3 separate regions of the Homo sapiens genome follow, and regions 1 and 2 are each linked to region 3. The links are contacts of gene promoters, found by promoter capture Hi-C in blood cells and fetal thymus (Javierre and others, 2016). All regions are on one chromosome and are shown on one strand. The core of a region is centred on a gene start or on the middle of the fragment in contact, and the rest is flanking DNA. Distances in the headings are between cores, read along the strand shown. Region 1 overlaps FAM83F (family with sequence similarity 83 member F). Region 2 overlaps FAM83F (family with sequence similarity 83 member F). Region 3 holds the start of MGAT3 (beta-1,4-mannosyl-glycoprotein 4-beta-N-acetylglucosaminyltransferase).

Region 1 (2,700 bases), core at 188-2,687, 550 kb after region 3:
TCCAAGCCAAACAACCAGTGTGACTTTCTGCTTCCAGACCATATATTATCCTGCACGCAGCAGCCTTCACTCAAAGTGGGACGTCCCCCTCGTGCATTCAAGTGACCTGAGTGGGGGTGGAAGACGGAGGCTGCTGTTAAAATGCATTTTCTTGGGCCTTTGCTGAATTCGAGTCTTTGAGGATGGGGCCCTAGAATCTGCATCTTCAATACGCATACCCACATCCCTGCTCCCAGGTGATTCTTTACACACTGAAGTTTGACAACCTGCCCCATAGACCTTGATCCTCTCTTTGGGGAGATCAGAAAAGGAGATTCCACAGCTGGAGATGTGTGAGTCAGAGGCTGCAGGCAGACCCAGCTCTACCCTCTGTGGGAAAGGGAAGAATTGCCCTCTGGTCCCAGATAGACTAACTCCCCTGGGCTGCCACACAGACGGCCATTCTGGGAGACAGCAGTTTGACCTGTTTGCTCAGCTGCTGTCCTTTCCACCCTGAGAGACTTAGGGCTTCAGATGTGGGGAGTTCCCCCCATTTGCCTTATAACGATCCCTCATAACTGCACAGCGTTTTTGTGGGATTTCGTGGGCATGATCTCATCCGAGCCTTCCAACAGCCCTTGGGAGGCAGGCAGGGCAGGTGTGGGAGGCGACTCGGCCCCAGGCGCACATGGGTAGGTAATCAGTGGGAAAGTGTCCCTAGCTGCTTCCCTTCCTTCCCCAGGATAAGTGACTGTCACCAAAAGGCCCCCCCGAGATCAGCAAGCTTGGCCTGTGGCCTTTTGCTTTTTCACACCCACAGAAGGGGTGAAGCTGGGGCTCTTTGCAGGCAACAGCAGCCGCACCCGCCCGAGTCCTGAGCTCCACGTCAGCAGGGCAAGGGGACGGATGGTGTTGTCTTTCTCTGGCCATGCATCTCAGTTTGCATCCTGCTGTGCAGGATGAATTGGAGGGCAGAGGTGAGTAGGAGAGAGCAGTTAGGAAGCTCATCAAAGCATGGTAGGAAAGGAGGAGAGTCCGAGCTGGGGCGGTACCAGTGGGGACAGAAAGGATTAACCCTGAGAAGGTGCCCGGGGTGGGGCCTGCTGGATTCAGTGACTGATGGGATTTGGTCGGTGGGGAGGAGGAGGAGGCCTGGGCTTCTGGCCAGAGTGACTAGGAGGATGTTGATCTGGGGAGTGCCTGTGTGGCTGAGGGACACGTCCAAGCTGCAGTCGGCTCTGTGGTTGTGGACACCTGGCAGAGCCATGCCTTCTCTAGTCTGGGTCATCCAAACACACGTGGGGTGCAGGGGCCAGGTGGAGCCCTCTTGTCGTTTTTGTTATCTAACGGTAATTACGGAGTCCAGAAAGAGAATTGGAAATGCCGGCAGTTTAATTAAAGCTGAATGGCAGGAGAGGGGCATTTGGAGGCTCCCTCCCTGCCTTCACTCCCCGTCCTGCCGCCCAGGCAGGATGTCAGATGAGGAGACGTTGAGCTCATCAAACACCCAATGAGAAGTCTTACAACATCAGAAGCTGTCTGCCAATGCGCCTGCGACAGCTTATAGAAACTGCTGCCGCCTCGAATCAACCTCTCTCCCCAGGCATTGCACGTCAGTAGGTAACCAGGTAAAGGACGCCGGGGGTGGGCAGCCAGCTGGAGGGGGCGTGATTTCCTCCCCCAACAAAATCGGCTTCCCTGGGTTCTGAGCCCATGATATCATGTTTTTAAACCCGATTTTCCATCTACACTGGGAGCTTTGAAGTTCGCTCGGTGTGGGGAATCACGTGCTCAGTGAAAGACCCAAGCGGAGAGACTGGGGAGCTGGTTCCCCTGGGCCTGACACTGCGGAGCTGAATGTCAAAGCAGGGCCCTCAGAGACCAAAGCGGAGGGTAATTATCACTTCTCCACAACTAGATTGCAGGAGTCAGCCAGCAATTGATTTTTTTTTCTACTTCAGATATTTCATTGTTTAATTGGTAGTGACACAGATGGCTGGCTCGCATCAGGGCGTCACAGTCCGACTCGCGAAAGCCAGGCTGTGGGGACTGCTGCCTCTCCTGACATCCTTAGGCAGGTGGGGCTAGGACAGGCCAGCTTCCCTGCTTAATTTTTCAACCACAAAGCAAAAGTAAGCTTGTGAACCTGAGACATGCTTCTGCAAACCGGTCAAGCTGTCCTCAGCGACATGAGTCCACTCTAAACTGGACACCTTGGAGTGTTCAGAAATGAGAGGACAGTGAACTCTTGCCTAGACAGCTCGTGGGAGATAAACTATCAGCACTAGGAGATGGCGATCAAGTATCAGAGCCCTGGAAACTGCATTGCTGGTGGAATGAAGCCAGAACTCTGTACATTGTGTTCAAACCCTCCGTATCCAGCCCGTGTACCTTCACCCTTATACCTACCCCATACCTGCCCTGAACTGTGCCAGCCCAGCTGGAGGACTCGAAGGTGGTTTTGGTTTGGTTGGTTGGCTATTTTGGACCCCAGGTGCAAAGAGCTGATTGTGCACTTTAGTTCACGGCACAATGCCACCAGAGAGCCTTGAAAGGCCTCATACTTTACCTTTCTCCTTCCCTCCCACTCCTTTCTCCTTCCACAGGCAGCCACCCTTATGTGTTCAGCATATGTCCTCAGACATCTTTGTATCCTTGAAAAGTATGCAGTGTTATGTTATGCAGTGTGCTTTTTTGTTTTGTTTTGTTTTTTGAGATGGA
Region 2 (2,700 bases), core at 142-2,641, 580 kb after region 3:
ACAGGGTTTCACTATGTTGGTCAGGCTGATCTTGAACTCCCGGCCTCAGGTGATCTGCCTGCCTTGGCCTCCCAAACTGCTGGGATTACAGGCATGAGCCACCACGCCCAGCCTGGCTAAGGTTCATTATCCCCATCTTTCAGATGAGGAGGCACACAACTCTCCCCAGATCCCACGTCACAGAGAATGCAGGTCTGAGTCTGTTCCTTGAGCTCAGGGTCTTGGCAATGGTGATGCTTTGGAGCTGCAGAATCCTCTGTTGGGGATGGGGCTGCCCTGTGCATTATAGTACGTTTAGCAACATCCCTAGCTTCCACCTACTAAATGCCACTAGCACTCCTTCAGATGAGACCACCAAAAATGTCTCCAGATGTTACCACATGTCCCCTGGGGGGTAAAAGTGCCCCCGTTGAGAGCACTGGCTCTTTTCTTCACAGTCCTGACCTGGTGGCCTGCACAGGCCACTTCTCCGAAGTGTTTCAATGCACTCTCTGCCCTGGGTACCTTGGACACAGCACCCTGGCCCAGAGAGGTTGGCTGACTTGCCTGAGACGCTGCTTCCTGGGAGACGCAGTAGCATCTTTCCTTTCTGTTCTGGTTATCTTTCTTAGTTCTTTACCACCTTATATTCCCCATGACAGGTGTGTTTATGTACACACATCTGCCTCACTCCACTCAGCTCCCTGTCAGGTTTCCTGCCAGTCTGTCCCTCTTCCTTCAGGCTCAGCTACGTCCTGCACAGACAGTACCACTGCACATACCTGTGTGTGCCCAGCGGTGGACCCACCTCCAAAAGCAGCCAGTGCTGACAGCAGAGAGCCTTCCACACTCAAGTCAGGCCAAGCAGGAATCGCTACCTGCCTGTCATGACCACATTCTCAGTGAACATTGACAAAGCCCCCTTAGCAGCTAATTAGCCCTGCCGTGCGCTAGGGATGCAATTTCTCATCTGGCAGTGCGCCACACTCCTGCCTCCCTGCCCAAAGGACGTAGTGGCTGCTGCTGATCGTCTGCACTGCTGTTCCAGGGGCAGGAGGTTTGCTGCAAATCAGGTACCCCCAGCTCAGTGAGCAGAACCAGTCCAAGGTTGAGTGAGGAGAAGGGCAAGAAGGGCAGGCACAGCCGTGAGTATGTTCTGGGGCTAAGTAACCATGAGATCAGCCCAGAGACCTTGCACAGTTAGGCAGGCCTGGACTTCTCGCCCTTCCCCTTGCAGCTTCTGCTCTCCCAGCTAGGGACTGAGGAAAGCCCTGCTTCTAGATGCCATGTGCTGCTGCCTGGCACGATAGGTACCCATCTGTCCTTGGGGTTCCTGAGCCTGGAGAGCGGGCTTTGTGAGCACTGGTGCCTCACCTGCCTGGCTCAGCTCTGCAGCCACAATATATGCTTAATACCTATTTGTTAAATGATTGAAGACTTGACTGCCATTCAGTACAGAGAATTAGCCAGGTGAATAAACAGGATGTGTCATAGAGGTTCTAGAATTGATCATGACCCTTTCTGTCTCATTCCTGACTTCTAATACCGTATATGCCAAATGGGGTTCTGCTGTGATTTAATTTCTTAAGGACTGGGTTTATCAAAAGTCCCTCCTGATCTAATCCTTTCCTCTAGGAAGGCTTCTCCTTTCTTCATCTGTCCTAAGTGCATGGTCTTCATCTCCTGGGTGGTCCAGACTAGGTGGCACTGGGCCTGCAGGCCTCTAGCTGCTCAAGGATGGCCCTGTCTGCATGCTTCCTTTCAAAAGCTAGCATAGAAAGGAGGGCCCAAGGTGAGGAAATTTGTCCAAAGTCACCCAATGAGTCGCAGGAAGGGCTAGAATCTGGTTATCTGGACCGTCCTAGAGCACTTTCACAGTGACAGCCGGCTGGAATCAAGTTTTCATTTAGAAAAATGGCTAGAAGTTAGGGCATTGCCTGCAGCCACTGAAAAGCAGCTTTAGGAGCAGATGTCCACGTAATAGAAGGAGATGGGCTAGGGCCTGCCACGGAAGCCAGCAAGCGCGTGGGAGCTGGGGGAGGAAAGGAGCAAAAGGCAAGAACAGGCAGTATGTCCGCGGTGCCCACAGTGCTGTGGGTACAAGCAAGGGGAAAAGAGCCCATGGTGTGCAGAAAACCATGCGTCATGATTCTTATTTCCTGCTCGCAGCTTTGACTCTCTGCCTCATCTCTTCCTGGAAGTGTCTTGGAAGTTAGGCGACTGCACAGGGAAAGGTTCGCTGCAGTGCTTGCAGGCCTGCACCCATTTATTCATCCGGTGGATATTTGCTGGGTGCCCGGCCTGGGGATCCATGGTGAGCGAGGAAGGCATGGTATTGAAGTGGTATGCCTGCATGACCTTGGCGGGGGCGCATGGCATAGAGAGGACAGGCTTCAGAACAGGCAGGCAAGGGCTGAAATCCTATCTCTGCCACCGAACAGCTAATGACCCCAGCAAGCAATTTCACATCCCCGAACTTTCCTGTTTCCTCATGTGTCAAATGGGGATGATCTCGAGACGACTCTCCAGAGTAACCACGTGAAGCACCTAGCACAGGGGCTGACGCAAACAGCTGGGCATCGGAGGAGCCTCCAGGGTTGTGACCTCCAGTGGCTTATTTTCCTTTTGGGATCTTCTCTCCTAGATCCTCCCCTTTAATTCCCTGTGAAATTTACCACTTTCATATTGAATCGTTGGCACACAGGGCTAACTGCTTGTTCA
Region 3 (2,700 bases), core at 103-2,602:
AAAATGTTTCTGGACACGTGAAAATGACACGAAATTCAAATTTTTGTGTCCATAAAGTTTTATTGGAACACCGCCAGGCTCATTCTTTTACGTATTGTCTATGGTTGATTTTATGCTACGATGGCAGAGTTGAGTAGTTGGGACAGAGACCATATGGCTGGCAAAGCCTAAAAGATTTACAATCAATCTCTTAAAGCAAATGGTTTGCCCACCCTTGCTTAGAGAGAGCCTCCAGGAAGAAAAGAGCAGTGAGGGTGACGTTGAAGAAGGGGGCAAGACTAGGTCACCAGGGGCTCCCTGTGCCCCGCCCAGGCACTGAACTTAAGCTGAGGGCAAGTGGGAGCCATTGAAGGTGCAGGCAGGAGAGTGACCTGCTCAAGTGAATGTTGGAGTAGGATCACTCTGCCTCCTCAGCAAGGATGGATGAAGCTGGGCACGGAGGCACCTGGAGCAGGTAGACCAGCCCTAGGCAGCCCGGATGGTTCAGCAAAGGCCTCTGGGACTATTCTGGAGCACATTCGCTGGGATATAGAATAGGTAGCGCATCCCTGCACCTTCGACGATGGCGGCGCAGAGATGTCTGCTGCGTACCCACAATGCCTTGTGCCTCGCACCGCGGGAGGAAGTGGCTGCTCTGTAGGCCCCAGAACGGAACCACTTGAAAGGCGGGAAACACGTGGGGGACGCCTCTGAGCCCTGAGAGGAATGGCCTAGAGCAAGGCCACGAGGAGCCAGGGCACGACACGGTGGGCCCTCGGAGAACCGCTGGTGGGCAAGTGGCAGGAGAGTAGGCTCAAGAGGGTTGGCAGGGCCGACCGGGCCTAGGGTGGCCGGGTGAGGGGGGCGGGGGAGGGGAGGCCCCCCCAGTTACCCCAGGAGTGCGCAGGTGGCTTCGGGCATGTGAGGGACGGAGGGGGTCGGACGGAAGGACACAGGCCGGTGTACAGCGGTCACCCACGCCCCAAGCAGACACACAGACTCTGCAGACACCGTAACAGGCCCGGCACCGTGCACACATCACAGGCCCAGGCCTCTGCACATGGTCACAGATGCCTATGCGAAATCCCGGCCCAGGTTCACGCGGGCACAGGCGCATCCACGCACACACCGCAACACGGATCTGCACGTCCATGCACACACAGGCACAGACTCGGGCACACGGAGTCACACCGACCCGGGCACGCTGCGGAACGCACCCGTCCACGCATACACAGAACGGGACTTGCTGCCCCGCACGCACACCAGGCCCGCACTCCGAACTACCCGCATTCCCCGCACACGCCCCCGCGCAGGCCGCCCCGGGCCGTGGGCCGGCGCACGCACGGTCACAGGAGGGGCGCGCGCACACTCGCACTCACACACACTCGCTCGCACACGCACACACTCGATCCAGCACGCGCGGGCGGCGCGGGGCGGCGGCGGCCGGAGTCTGCGGTGCGAGGCGCCCCCGGCCCGGCGCGGCGGCGGAGCCCGGCTGGCGGGGGAGGGGAGGGGGTTGCGGAGGGGGCGGGGTGGGGGCCGGAGCCGCTTGAGCCGGCGGGAGCGGGCACCCCTGCGCGCCGCGCTCGGCCTCGCCTCCGCGCCCCCCGCGCGCCCGCCGCGGTCCCTCCCCCGCGCCCGTCCGCTCGCCGGGCCCCCGCCGCCGCCCCGGGGTGCAGCCGAGCGGCCGCGCCGGGTCCCCGGGACGGGGTGGAAGTGGGGGTGGGGGGAGGGGATCGGGGCCGGGCCGGGGCCGCGCTGCCTGCGATGCCGGGCGCCCGCCGCAGCCGCTGCCGCCGGAGCCCGGGATGGGGCGAGAGGCTGCGGCGGACGCCAGCATCTCCCCGCCGGGGACCCCGGGGGCCGCGGAGCCGCCGCCGCCGCTGCTGCCGCCGTTGCTGAGACCCAGCGGGCGATGGGTGAGTTGACCCCGGCGTCCTGGGGGGCGCCGCGGCCCCTCTATCCCCGCGCTGCCCGCCCTCCCGCGCTGCGCTTGGCGCCCCCCGCCCGGCTCCGCGGCCCACTCCCCGAGCGTGACCTTAGGGGGCGGGCGCGGGCGCACTGGGGCTGGGGGCCCGGAGGCCGCGGTGGGGGCGGGATGCCGGGGAAGCCGCTCGGCGCGGGCCCCCTCCCCCTACCCGCCGCTCCTCCGAGCTCCCCGGTCCCCGGAGGGCAGAGCCTCAGCGCCCGACCCCCTCCCACGGCCGGGCGGGGGACGTCCCCGAGGCGCGGGGCTCGAGCCGTGCTTTGTGCGCGGCACCCCCCAGCCTCCGGCGCGGCTCCCCCACAACCTCCGGCGCGGCGCGGGGCTGGGGTGGGAGGCCTCCGCGCCCGCCTTCCCCACCCCCGACCCCAGACTGCGGCGGCGGCAGCCGAGGCCCAAGCGCAGTCGGGGGCTGGGCGGGTGCGGGGGCTGCGGCCGTAGCTACCCCTGGGGACCAGGCAGAGGCAAATGTGGAGAGGGCCCCCGGCCATTTACCGGGGTGGGGGCCCCCGGCTCCTTGCATTGCTCTGCCCAGGGCGGGGGAGGGAACCTGGCTGAGGGAGGGCGCTATAAATATCTGCAAATAGTGAGTTCTGGAACCGGGAGTGGGGAGGGGAGTGCGCCTGGGTGTGTGTATGGTGGGGTTCCTGAGCTGGGGTGCAGCAGGAAGGGATGCCGCGCGGCCAGACCTAGTGGTCTGAGGTCGGATGACCCCCAGCCCCGGAAGATGCCCCTGA

The links. Contacts are between HindIII fragments. The CHiCAGO score rates a contact against its expected background, and 5 or more counts as called.
Region 1: a fragment that was not itself captured here is called in contact with the fragment with the promoter of MGAT3 in region 3 in 1 of 17 cell types (activated CD4 T cells); the score reaches 5.1 in activated CD4 T cells.
Region 2: a contact is called between a fragment that was not itself captured here and the fragment with the promoter of MGAT3 in region 3, in 1 of 17 cell types (M0 macrophages). The highest score is 5.4, in M0 macrophages.

What each region holds. Positions count from the first base shown.
Region 1 is chr22:40,008,518-40,011,217 of GRCh38, forward strand. All of the region lies in intron 1 of FAM83F (family with sequence similarity 83 member F), which reads left to right. Among named protein-coding and RNA genes, the nearest start is that of FAM83F, 15 kb to the left of the region's middle. The HindIII fragment of the contact is 1,353 bases long and covers 762-2,114 here.
Region 2 is chr22:40,033,272-40,035,971 of GRCh38, forward strand. FAM83F (family with sequence similarity 83 member F) reads left to right here. Exons shown (of 5, transcript NM_138435.4): 5 at 1-2,700. Among named protein-coding and RNA genes, the nearest start is that of TNRC6B-DT, 9.9 kb to the right of the region's middle. The HindIII fragment of the contact is 9,682 bases long and covers 1-2,700 here.
Region 3 is chr22:39,455,660-39,458,359 of GRCh38, forward strand. It overlaps MGAT3 (beta-1,4-mannosyl-glycoprotein 4-beta-N-acetylglucosaminyltransferase), which reads left to right and starts at 1,353. Exons shown (of 2, transcript NM_002409.5): 1 at 1,353-1,898. RefSeq lists silencers at 1,279-1,338, 2,069-2,338, 2,349-2,478. The HindIII fragment of the contact is 6,875 bases long and covers 1-2,700 here.